Regions from separate parts of the Homo sapiens genome. Here region 1 is linked to region 2. Evidence: promoter capture Hi-C in 16 types of primary human blood cells and fetal thymus (Javierre and others, 2016). All regions are on one chromosome and are shown on one strand. Each heading gives the region's core, a stretch centred on a gene start or on the middle of the fragment in contact. The rest is flanking DNA. Distances are from core to core; before and after follow the strand shown.

The links. Contacts are between HindIII fragments. The CHiCAGO score rates a contact against its expected background, and 5 or more counts as called.
Region 1: a contact is called between the fragment with the promoter of ZNF549 here and a fragment that was not itself captured in region 2, in 1 of 17 cell types (activated CD4 T cells). The highest score is 5.3, in activated CD4 T cells.

Annotation. Positions count from the first base shown.
Region 1 is chr19:57,524,143-57,530,201 of GRCh38, reverse strand. It overlaps ZNF549 (zinc finger protein 549), which reads right to left and starts at 2,846. Exons shown (of 4, transcript NM_001199295.2): 1 at 2,596-2,846. The coding sequence starts at 2,628. The HindIII fragment of the contact is 12,430 bases long and covers 1-6,059 here.
Region 2 is chr19:36,682,451-36,689,170 of GRCh38, reverse strand. ZNF567 (zinc finger protein 567) reads right to left here and starts at 1,559. Exons shown (of 6, transcript NM_001322917.1): 1 at 1,537-1,559. It overlaps ZNF567-DT (ZNF567 divergent transcript), which reads left to right and starts at 1,722. Exons shown (of 4, transcript NR_110708.1): 1 at 1,722-1,903; 2 at 2,365-2,485; 3 at 3,156-3,334; 4 at 3,660-3,732. RefSeq lists enhancers at 503-1,142, 1,703-1,752 and a silencer at 1,443-1,502. The HindIII fragment of the contact is 1,031 bases long and covers 2,079-3,109 here.

The DNA.
Region 1 (6,059 bases), core at 1,597-4,096, about 21 Mb before region 2:
AAGTTCAAATTCTATAATCACTTGATTTTTCTGGTGACTGACTCCACTCTGAGGCTATCTAGAGACTCCACCTTGTCTGCTCACCCTAAGCCATCTCATAAAACTCAAGTATAGAAGTCTTCCCTTATCAGCTGTTTTGCTATTTGCAGTTTCAGTTACCCACACTCAACTTCAGTGTGAAAATTATAAGTATTAAATTTCAACTTCAGTCTGAAAATAGTAATATTAAAATTCCAGAAATAAACAATTCATGTTTTAAATAGTGCACCATCCTTTATTTATTTATTTATTTATTTATTTTATTTATTTATTTTTGGAGACGGAGCCTCGCTCTGTCGCCCAGGCTGGAGTGTAGTGGTGCAATCTCGGCTCACTGCAAGCTCTGCCTCCCAGCTTCACACCATTCTCCTGCCTCAGCCTCCGGAGTAGCTGGGACTACGGGCGCCCACTACCACACCTGGCTAATTTTTTGTATTTTTAGTAGAGACGGGGTTTCACCATGTTAGCCAGGATGGTCTCGATCTCCTGACCTTGTGATCTGCCTGCCTCAGCCTCCCAAAGTGCTGGGATTACAGGTGTGAGCCACTGCGCTGGCCAACAGTGCACCATTGTAAGTAGTGTGAGGAAATCTCACTCTATCGAGTTTAGTCCCTTCTTCATCACAAGGGTGAATAGTACAGTAAGATATTTAGAGAGATACCACATTCACATGTTTTTTATAATTTAACTTTTGCTTTTTTATTGTCTCAACTGCAGTTACTTAACTTTTATTAACTTATAAAGTATAACTGTTCTATATTATTTCCAGTTATTATTGTTCATCTCCTATACTGCCTCATTTATAAACTGGATTTTATTACAGGTATGTAGTCTAGGAAGAAACATAGTATATATAGGTTGGGTACTATCTGCAGTTTCAAGCCTCCGCTGGGGTTCTTGAAAGGTATCCTCTGAGGATAAGGGGGAACTACTGTTCAGACATTCATTGTTCAACTACTAAATGGTATAGCCTATTGCTCCTAGGCTACAAACCTGTACAGCAAGTTACTATACTAAATACTGTCAGCAACTGTAACACAGTGATAATTATTTGTGCATTTAAACATTTATAAACTTAGAAAATGCAGTTTGCCTCCTGATCAGAAAGAAAGAAAATGAAAAGGTACAGTAAAAATATGGTATCATAATCTTATGGGACCACCGTCACTGATGTGGTCAACACTGTTGTTATGCGGTCCATGACTTATCACAAGACACTTTTCACTGAGGAAATTACAACGATTTTAGGAATTCTGTGCCAGGAAAGCATGACAAAAAACAAACATTTATTTTTTATTAGAGCACAGAGTTATAGTGACATTTTATTCGGTTAACTAATTGCTTGCATAAATTTAATTTGTTAAATCTATACAGTCTAAACTTGTATTTTCCTGGGAGAGCTGCTCTTGCTGGGCTTGGGCTTCTCTGCTAGTCTGGCTGACCTTTCTCTGGCTCCACATAGAGTGAACAGTTCGCCAAGTCTTCTGAATGGTGACTCTACACAGTGTCCCACCCTCAAATCCATCCTATGCAGTGTGTATTCCTTACACATTCCCTTTGGAAGTACCCCCGGAACCCCATGGCCCTCCTATCTGCAGGCAGCTTCGCCAAGGCCGACCCACACTTTCCCAGCCTCCAGCCTCAGCCCTCCCTCTCTTCATCTCAAAGTAAAACCTTAAGATTTCCCGTCTAAATTTAAGGCTTGGCTTGAGTCTACGCCCCAGCCTGTCTCCATTTACACATCACTGAGTCAGTCCCCTCCCATGAATTTTCTACTTATGATTCCAACTGCCCATGTAACAACTTCACTCTGTGGCAATTTAGAAACACCACGTCCAAAATTCAACTCCTACTATTTCCCTGAAACCTGCTCCCTCACCAGATTTCTTTGTCAACTCTTCCAGATGTTCAGGTAAAAGAAAAACTTGGGATCATACTTCACTCCCACTTTTGCTCATAGGCACAAATGATGGAGCAGAAAATCCTGCTGGCTTTACCTTTAAGATCTACCAAGATTCTTATTACTTAGGTCCCTTCAGCAACCCGTCTGGTCCAGAATCCACCATAATCCTCCTGGAGCCTACTACAGCAGTCTCCTCACCAGTATCCCTGCGTCCACCCCCATCACTCCGTAACAGTCTGTTTTCTCCACTCATTGCCTTTGAAATATTTTTTCAGACCCTCACTCAGATCGTGTTCTCCTTTAGTTCACAACCCTCCATGGCTCCCAAAGACTCAGAATTAAAAACCCCGGTTGCTCAGGCTGCCATGGCAGCCGTGCCTTCTTCTCCTCATTCTCTCTGCTCCCTGCAGACACAGGTCCGCCCCCAAGTTTCCGAATGCTCGCGACCCCGGCGCACCTCCCAGGCTCTGCGCGTGCAGCCCCCACGGTACGCAACGCTCTCCCTTCTTCACCTCACCGCCCGTCAGCTCTGAGGACCCCACCCAGAACTCCTCGCTGTCCTGGAGAAGAGGCCTGAACTGCAGAGACCCACGCAGGTGACCCCAGTCCGGGGCCTCAGGACCCAGGTGAGGATCCGAGGACTCCGCTCTCACCTGCGGCGTAATCACTAGCGCTGCCTCGGCCATGGGACTTTAGGCGGGGCGGGGCCTGGAAAGGCGGGCGGTAAAGCCCGGGATCCGGCGTGCGTGCGGTGGCAAATCGCTGGGCGACGCTCAGACCGAGACCAGGCAAGCTCCTCTGCGGGCGGACACCACCTCCACCGGTTTCCGGCTCCAGTTACCTGGCCCGGACCCAGCGAGCCGGAAACGCCCAGCCCGCGGACGCGCTCGCAGGCAGCAAAAACGACCACCACCGGAAAGACGCCGGAAGATTCTGGCGTATTGCGCACTTACGGAGGTGCCCCTTTCCTGGGCAATGATTGGTCTAAGGCCCCGGCACGCTCGGCGCACAGTATTCTGGGTGGTGTAGTTCCTACCACGCCGCAGTCCGCCGCGCTGTGAGGACTCAATCCAAGAAAGAGAGGACAAAGGAAAAAACCCATCAAACTAGGGTCAGCAAAGCCTATTACATACACAGGATAAAAGAATACGATTTGATCTTCATTTCTCAACACAAAAGTTGACATATATTGCATACAATACATTAAAAATGTTGACAATTGAGAATTGACGCGACCCTTAATTTTTTTCTTTTTTTTAATGTAGAAACTATAACCAAAAATAAAATTCAAAGGCCTCCCAACTATCTGAATGGACCCCCTCCTCTCAGCATTATAGAGTTAACCTGAAAATCTAGTTCAGGCCATTATGGAAGAAGGGGTTGGACATGCCTCATTCTACCCCTACAGCAATAACATCAGCATAGACCTTAAGTCTGATAAGAAACATTTACAATCTATTTCTCTGAAACTTGCTACCTGCAGGCTTCATCTGTATGATAAAACCTGGGTCTCCAACCAAGGTGATCACTAACAGTGGGGTCAGCATCCCCTTATCCCACACGTTTGTGTTTATTCTGTTTTTTTGCCCTCAAGTGTTAGTGACTTAAATTACATAATGTATCTATTATCATAAGTGGAACTGAAATGAGATTGCAGAAACATTATATCTTCTTTTTCTTTTCTTTTTTTCCTTTTTTTTTTTTGACAGAGTCTCACTCTGTCGCCCAGACTGGAGTACAGTGGTGCAATCTCTGCTCACTGTAACCTCCACCTCCCAGGTTCAAGCGATTCTCCTGCCTCAGCCTCCCGAGTAGCCGGGACTACAGGCATGCGCCACCACCCCCGGATAATTTTTGTATTTTTAGTAGAGACAGGGTTTCACCATGTTGGCCAGGCTGGTCTAGAACCGGCCTCAAGTGATTCGCCTGCCTTAAAGTGCTGGGATTACAAGCATGAGCCACCATGCCTGGCTTTTTTCCCCCATATTTAGCAATTAGCTTTTGTTGCTATCCATTGTCTTCATTTCTCTTTAGTTTTTAATTGTTTATAATTTTGACATTTTATAATTACTTAAGAAAGGTTAGAAAAATTACCATTTAGATTGGAGTCATATTAAATAAGACACCTATATTGTAAAAATATCTTTATGAATGTAATCTTTGGCTATAGTGTTGTAACCGAGCGAGTTATAGAGAAATGCCACACTCTGAGACTAATTCTGGAGTCCTTTTATTGCCAGCGACCGAGAGACAGCTAGAGCTCAAAATTCTTGGCCCCGAAGAAGGGGCTAGATTTCTTTTTATACCTTGATCTAAATAGGGGAGGGGGAGTTTAGCTGAAGCAATTTTTACAGAAGCAGAACAGGCAAAAAGTTAAAAGATAAATGGTTACACAAACATTTACAGGAAAATAAACAGTTCCAGGTGCAGGGGCTTAATTATCACAAAGTGATAAACGCAGGGGCTTTGGGTACCATTAACTGAGTGCGTTCCTAGGAGCTGCTGGTACAGCGTGCCTCAGTGTCTATCAGTAAGTGCATTCCTGGATGTGCTTGGAGTCAGCTTGCACTAGTTATGTCCTTAAGGGAGGGGGATAAGGGGGCTGCAAGTGAAGAAACAAAAATGGAGTCTGTTTGGCTCTCTCAGCTGAGAGAGACAATCAGGTTAAAACAAGGTAGGGCATCACAATCGTTTGTCTCCACTATTATTTATTTCTGATCCTTTTATTTTTTTATTATTTTTTTTTTTTGAGATGGAGTTTCGCCCTTGTTGCCCAGGCTGGAGTGCAATGGCACGATCTCGGCTCACTGCAACCTCCACCTCCCAGGTTCAAGCGATTCTCCTGCCTCAGCCTCCCTAGTAGCTGGGATTACAGGCATGTGCCACCACGCCCAGCTAATTTTGTATTTTTAGTAGAGACGGGATTTCTCCATGCTGGTCAGGCTGGTCTCGAACTCCCGACCTCAGGTGATCGGCCCACCTCAGCCTCCCAAAATGCTGGGATTACAGGCAAGAGCCGCTGCACCCGGCCATGATCCTCTTATTTTAAGAGTTTTACGGGTCGGGCGTGGTGGCTCACGCCTGTAATCCCAGCACTTTGGGAGGCCGAGGCAGGCGGATCACCTGAGGTCAGGAGTTCGAGACAGCCTGACCAAAATGGTGAAACCCCGTCTCTACTAAAAATACAAAAAATTAGCCGGGCGTGGTGGTGGCGCCTGTAGTCCCAGCTACTCGGGAGGCTGAGGCAGGAGAATGGCATGAACCCAGGAGGCAGAGCTTGCAGTGAGCAGAAATCGTGCCACTGCACTCCAGCCTGGGCGACAGAGCAAGACGCCGTCTCAAAAAAAAAACAAAAACAAAAACAAAACAAAACAAACGCAAAAAAATTTAGCCGGGCGTGGTCGCGGGCTCCTGTAGTCCCAGCTACTCAGGAGGCTGAGGCAGGAGAATGGTGTGAACCCAGGAGGCGGAGCTTGCAGTGAGCCGAGACCGTGCCACTGCATTCCAGCCTGGGCGACAGAGCGAGACTCCGCCTCAGAAGTAAATATATACATAAACGAATGAATAAATCTTACTTCATTCAAACTTTGTCACATTTTTTCTTATTTGTGTTTTTCTAAAAGTTCACATATTCTCTAAATATCTCTTTCATTTATTTTTAAAGAGTAATCTGCAAAGCATTATTATCCTTCATATTACTTTAATTTGCACCAGCTTTAAAGTGAACAATCAGGTAGGTACTTTACGTATTGACTGTTTAAAATATAAATGAATATCTGCATTAAATATGATTTAGTGGAATATTGATATTGACTTATTTTATTATATTGACCTTTCTGCTATTTTTAAACAACTTTCTTGAAGTATTGGTTGATATTCTAGAAGAAATTCCATCTCTTTTAGTTAGCTTGCAATATTTAGTTTTGAATTTCAGAAAGCTACGCAAAGAATCCATAATACGGAAAATATTGCTTCCTTCTTTACATGTGTTTATATAGTTATCAGAAAGTTTGAAGTAATCATTCTTGTTGTGATGCATGAGTAATTACTCAGAGTAGGACTTGAAATAATTTATCAGTCTCTATTATTTCTGTTCATTTGGTTCTTGCCATTCCTG
Region 2 (6,720 bases), core at 1,345-3,844:
ATTCTATTCATTTAAGCATATCAGTCATCAGTCAATACCAGGTTTCCCAATAAATGATCTTTTTTGGAAGGGAAGGGACGGAGTCTCGTTCTGTCGCCCAGGCTGGAGTGCAGTGGCGCGATCTTGGCTCACTGCAACTTCCACCTCCGAGTTCAAGCGATTCCCCTGCCTCAGCTCCCGAGTAGCTGGGGCTACAGGCATGCGCCATCATGCCCAGCTAATTTTTATATTTTTTAGTAGAGACGGGGTTTCACCATGCTGGTCAAACTCCTGACCTCAGGTGATCTGTCCGCCCCAGCCTCCCAAAGTGCTGGGATTGCAGGCGTGAGCCACCGCGCATGGGCCCAATCTTTTTTTTTTTTTTGAGACGGAGTCTTGCTCTGCCACCCAGGCTGGATTGCAGTGGCACGATCTCGGCTCACTGCAAGCTCCGCCTCCCGGGTTCACGCCATTCTCCTGACTCAGCCTCCCAAGTAGCTGGGACTACAGGCGCCCGCCACCACGCCCGGTTAATTTTTTGTATTTTTAGTAGAGACGGGGTTTCACCATGTTAACCAGGATGTTCTCGATCTCCTGACGTCGTGATCGGCCCGCCTCAGCCTTCCAAAGTGCTGGGATTACAGGCGTGAGCCACCGCGCCCGGCCCGCATGGGCCCAATCTTACCCTCTGAAAATTATTTTGCCTCTTCCTCTCCATTAAAAAAAAAAAATCACTACTTATTTTACTTGTCTAATTACCAGAGTCAAATTCTACAGGCATATATAAAATGCCCAATACTCATAAATCAATCTAAACAATGCATACTTTAGTCAACACTCGGTTTCTCAAGCACTCCACCTAAGTCACACAGTGTGCCACATTCACAGTCATCATAGGTCGTGTACACCAAATACTTTTAAAATTAGGCATATTCATAGCTGTATCACCCACTACATAGTCATAATCCCATAGGCCCCCACGTCGTGCACAATTTCACAGAACTTCTACAAAAAGTAACAACCTTTCACTCACAATGCCCTCACTGTCGCCTCTCCAGAGTCGGACACAGGCTCAAACACAAATCGACTCGCATCTAATTTAAATTAAAACTTAAGACACGCAGGGACCCTATCACTTTCATAAACAACCGGTTCCACAACGTCACACAGAATAACACATTCCCCTACCACAACACACAGGACAGGTACGAAAAGCCACACACACACACACGGAGCGCCTGTTGTGTGCCAGGCCGTGCTCCAGGAGCCAGGGGACGAAAATCAGACGAAATTCCTGCCACTGGGGAGCTCACCCCCCGCCTCGGGCAACCGGTTCCCTTCTTCAGGTGCTCCCGGGCCCGCGCTCTGGTTCCTGCTTCCCTCCCAGCCTTCTCTGAGGCCCGGACTCGCACTTTCCTCCAGCCAACTCCTCGTCCCAGGTTGCTCCTCTTCCCTTCTTGCTTTCCCCAGCCCAGGCTCCCGCCTCCCTCCTCAGCCTTCCTTACGGGTCACACCGTCACCCGCCTTCTCCGCGCCCGCGGGACCCACCAGCCTCACCTTCGGTTGCCGGCCGGGCGTCTGCGCATGCGCACTCCCACGCGGACGATGCCTCCCAGGTGTCTCCGCGGCGCGTTCCTGCTGTCCACCGGCTACGCGCGCCTTCTCCACATCCGGGCGTTTCCGGCCTTGGACTACATTTCCCACAGGCGCCCGGGCGGTTTTCGAACTTTGATCTCTGGTTCCCCTTCCAAATTCTCATAGTGCGTGGCTGGGATGAGGGCGGCGCTCACGGTGAGGAAGCCCCGAGCTCCCGGGACGCAGACAGGGTGTGCAGGGCCGTAGCTCGGGCCTGTGTATGCACCTGTGCGTGTGTGTTTGATGCCAGGACAAGGCGGCGGTGTGCGCGGCGAGGAGGCTGCGACAGGTGCGTGATTGTGTTCCTGTCCCTGCTCGGATGCGGGACCTTTGGGTGGCCGTGGTCGGCTGTCGGGTGTGTGACACTGTAGGGTTTGAGACCTTCCATCATGACAGTGCTGCTGTGGCCGTGTGATGGAAGAGCCTTTTAGGTCTGTGGTGTTGTGTGTGTAACGGGTAAAGCTTCATTTCTGCAGTGCTGTGTTTAATGTTGGGACTGAGGGGTCTGTCGAAGATCTCCCCAATGTGCCTGTGAGGACTATGATCCATGCCTATGTTAAGCAGAGTCATCTTGCAATGAAGCATGGCCCGCGTTGTCTTCTCAGGGCACACCTGTCCCCAGTTCTCAGCCTGGTGTTTGACACAGGGGATCCTGGCGGAGTGCCCACCTAAGCGGCAGTTTTAGACTCGATTGTTTCTTGGGCTCTGCATCTCTGAGTTCCCAGCTTCCTTTTTTCTCCCGCTTTATAGCTGTATAGACCCCAGCTGCAGTGAAATGGCCATCAAAAAGGGAAGGGATAATCGAGTGGTGGAATAAAATCTGCAAACAGAAAAAGGACAGACCTGTTTTCGGAACGAGGCTTTTCGAGTTGTAAGTGTCCCTTAAGCAGAGTTCTGGGAAGACGTCGTGGGGAGAACCTAGGAGTAGGATTCCTTCCTCAGAGGCTCTCCCTTGGGAACTCTCAGAGGTCAGGTTCCATGTGATCCACATCATTCCCAGAGCTGTCTCCGCAGGAGACTTAACGTGAATTTTGAGAAAGTCCCCAGTCCTGGATATCAGTGACCCTGGCCTTTCCCTTGAATACTAAGAAGGGTTAGCAGTACTCCCATCTCCCTTTTACTTCCATCTGAGTATGTTTATGGTAGATGATGAGAGCTCGTGTGGTGGCAATAATTTTTTCCAATTTAGCCAATCTGGGTTCCAAGAAAGGTCTGATGTCTCATGATTCCTTACCCCTTCTCCCTTGCCTTGAGGTTCTCTAAGAGCCCTGAGGAAAGGGAACCATTGCTGAGCATATCTGAAAACCAAGGTCAAGGAAGTTTTGTTGTATTTTCTATTTTTGTTCTCTTTGATTTTGTTTTTCAGCAAGGGAGTATTTTTTCTCCTCCTGAAATGCTAGTCAGTGGTTAGGTTACTATTAGGCAGGGCCTTGTGAGGTGCTTTGACCAATAGAATGTGGTGGAAGTGATATTGTGAGACTTCTGAGACAAAGCTTCAGGAAGTCTTGCAGCTTTTTCTCTTCCCCTTTTCCTGCCCTGAGACCACCATGACTGAAGGCTAAGAGCAACTTGCTTGCGCATTAAAGATCACTTGGAGAGAGAGGTCCAGTGAGCAACAACGGCCAGAAATTTCAGGGAGACCATCTTGAACCATCCAGCCTCCACCAGGCCAACAGCTGACAGCTGTCACATGAATATGATCAGCAGAAGAACCACTCAGGCAAGCCAAGCCCAAATTGCCAAGCCCCCCAAATAATAAGCTAATTGTTTTTTGTTTTAAGCCATAAACTTTTGAGGTGGTTATATAGCAATAAATAACTGAAACAGGTGTTTAACTTTCTAGACTTTTTAAATGACCATATTGATATAATTGTATTGTTCAACCTGTTTTGTAAAGTGATTTCTCTGATACAGTATCTTGAAAATATTCCTTAACTATTTTCTACAACTTTGCATTTGTCTATCTTAGTATTATATTACATGGATATGTGGTAACTTATTTAACTACTAACTTCCCTTTGCAATTCCTTTTCCTTGCTGTCTAGCTCCCATGTCTTGACCAACTTTGCATTCCCCTCCAGGACCTTATGGGCACATGGGTTCCTATCATTTCACGGGTATGTAGACTCAGGAATGTGGCATTGACTTCTGGGTGGAGTACAGATGACTGACACCCCCACCCCGATTCGGAGGAATTATTCAGGGGTGTGATATAACACCTACATACATTTATTTAACTAGCCAATTTGGTCTCCCCTTTTTTTGTTTTGAGACCGAGTCTTGCTCTGTCGCCCAGGCTGGAGTGCAGTGGCGTGATCTCGACTTACTGCAACCTCCGCCTCCCAGGTTCAAGGGATTCTCCTGCCTCAGCCTTCCGAGTAGCTGAGACTACAGGTGCCCACCACCATGTCCGGATAATTTTTGTATTTTTAGTAGACATGGGGTTTCGCCAAGTTGGCCAGGCTGGTCTCAAACTCCTGACCTCACGTGATCTGCCTGCCTCAGTCTCCCAAAGTGTTGGGATTACAGGCATGAGCCACCTCGGCCAGCCGGGTCTCCCTTTTTACATCTGTTTTCCCCTTTCCAGTTCAAATTCTGTATTCTGGGAACATCTTACTTTCTTCACCCTGATTGATTAGGGAAACTTCAGGGTTCTTAGGTAACTTTCTGAAGGACTGGTTTAAGATTCCTAGAGTTGGAAATGGGCGTCTCTCCTGTGTTATTTCTAAAGTGTTATCATCCTAATCCTTCAGAATACTTTCTTGACTTCTTTCTGCTTGATGATTAAGGAATGGTCTCAATTCTCCATAGCCACATCAGACCAAAATTCCATTTCTTTGCCTATGTGAAGGGTTTATTATTAATTACCCTATTAATTTATGTCCAAACCAGATGTGATTTCCTTCTTGGAGCAATAGTTCGTGAAGAGGTTGGTTAACAGCAGTTCTGTGCCCAGGTAAATGAGAGGCAACTGATAAGAGGAACTCGTTGTGTATAAAATCTTAGGATTCTAGATTTAGGACCTTTAAGGCAGTATTTGAATTAGTGCTCTGGAATGTCTATGAAGAAAGTTTGGGTCTCTTCAGCCAGAATTCAGACCATTTCAACATTGCATTCCATGTATCATACACATATCTCCTTTTATTATTATTTTTTCTGCTCTCAAAGCAGATTTCTCTCATTGTAAAATTAGTAGATTCTTAATTCAGAAGATTGGAGAATATTAAAAAAAGCTTAAAGTAAAGCACTTTGAACACTTTATTCCAAATCACTTCACCTCATTTGTGAATAAGTGCATGGATATAGGCTTATAGGACTTTTTCATTCAAAACAGGGTTATATAACAATTGTTTTGAAATCTACTTGTTTCTTCTAACAAAATATAGTGAACAAATTTTCATGTCACTAAATTATGAACTGTGTCATAATCTTTTAATGGCTGCACTGTTCTGTTTGTATATGTAAGTTCTTTCCAGCTTTTTCCCATTATATGCAATGTTTTACTGCATATGCCTTTTCTGTGCACATGTGAATTGTATATTTTGGATAGTCTTAGATATTTTGCTGAGAATGAGGTTTTCATAGTTAAAACCTGTTTACACATCTATATCAATTGCCCTGATTAAGTTTGCACCAATATTCAACATACTATGAGAATGTCTATTCGCTACTATATGGTATCATTAGTCTTTTATTATTATTTTATTTTATTATTATTATTATTTGAGACAGAGTCTCACTCTTGTTGCCAGGCTAGAGTGCAGTGGCATGATCTCGGCTTACTGCAACCCCCGCCTCCAAGGTTCCAGCAATTCCCCCACCTCAGCCTCCCAAGTAGCTGGGACTACAAGGCGCATGTCACCACGCATGGCTAATTTTTGGTTTTTAGTAGAGACGGGGTTTCACCATGTTGGCCAGGATGGTCTCCATCTCCTGACCTTGTGATCCGTCTGCCTTGGCCTCCCAAAGTGCTGGGATTACAGGCGTGAGCCATTGCACCTGGCCATCATTAGTCTTTTAAATCCACCAATCCAGTAGAAATTATATTTATTTAAATGAATTACCCATGCACAGGTTTCATTCAGTGTAATAAAATATGGGCTTCAGAAACAAAAACCAGAACTGAAAGAAAATTGGTTTTGTAGGTAGAAAAATGTGATTTAAAAATGCAGATATGCCATTTATTTTGAGGGTGTATAGCTCACCCCTGTAATCCCAGCACTTTCGGAGGCTGAGACGGGTGGAACACTTGAGCCCAGGAGTTTGAGACCAGCCTGGGCAATATGGTGAAACCCCGTATCTACTAAAAATACAAAAAATTAGCTGGGTGTGGTGGTGCACCTGTAGTCCTAGCTACTTGGGAGGCTGAGATGGGAGGATCACCTGAGCCCAAGGATATTGAGGCTGTAGTGAGCCGTGATTGTGCCAATGCACTCCAACCTGAGCGTTGGAGTGAGACCATGCCTCAAAAAAACAAAAACAAAAAACTCTTAAAATCGAGGGAAAGACCCAAAAACCCGATAGAAAAAGTGAGTAAAAGAAATGAACACATGAAATCACACACACACAGACACACACACACACAAAGAGAGAGAGAGGAAGCACAAATTTTAAAATTATAGCGTGCTGGCTTTTTAAAAAAATAAACCCAGCTGGGTGTGGTGGCTCACGCCTGTAATCCCAGCACTTTGGGAGGCTGACATGGGCGGATCACGAGGTCAGGAGATTGAGACCATCCTGGCTAACATGGTGAAACCCTGTCTCTACTAAAAATACAAAAAATTAGCTGGGCGTGGTGGAGGGCACCTGTAGTCCCAGCTACTCGGGAGGCTGAGGGAGGAGAATGGCGTGAACCTGGGAGGTGGAGCTTGCAGTGAGCCAAGATGGTGCCGCTGCTCCCCAGCTTGGGCGGCAGAGTGAGACTCCGTCTCAAAAAAAAAAAATAATAATAATAATAATAATAAAATAATAAAAAAAAAACCCATGCAACCGCCATTACAGACATAGAAACTTTCCAACATCCCAGAAGGCTCCCTCATATCTCTTCCCAATCATTATACCTCAAAGTTAACCATTAGTTTGACCTCTATAATAGAATAGTTTGGT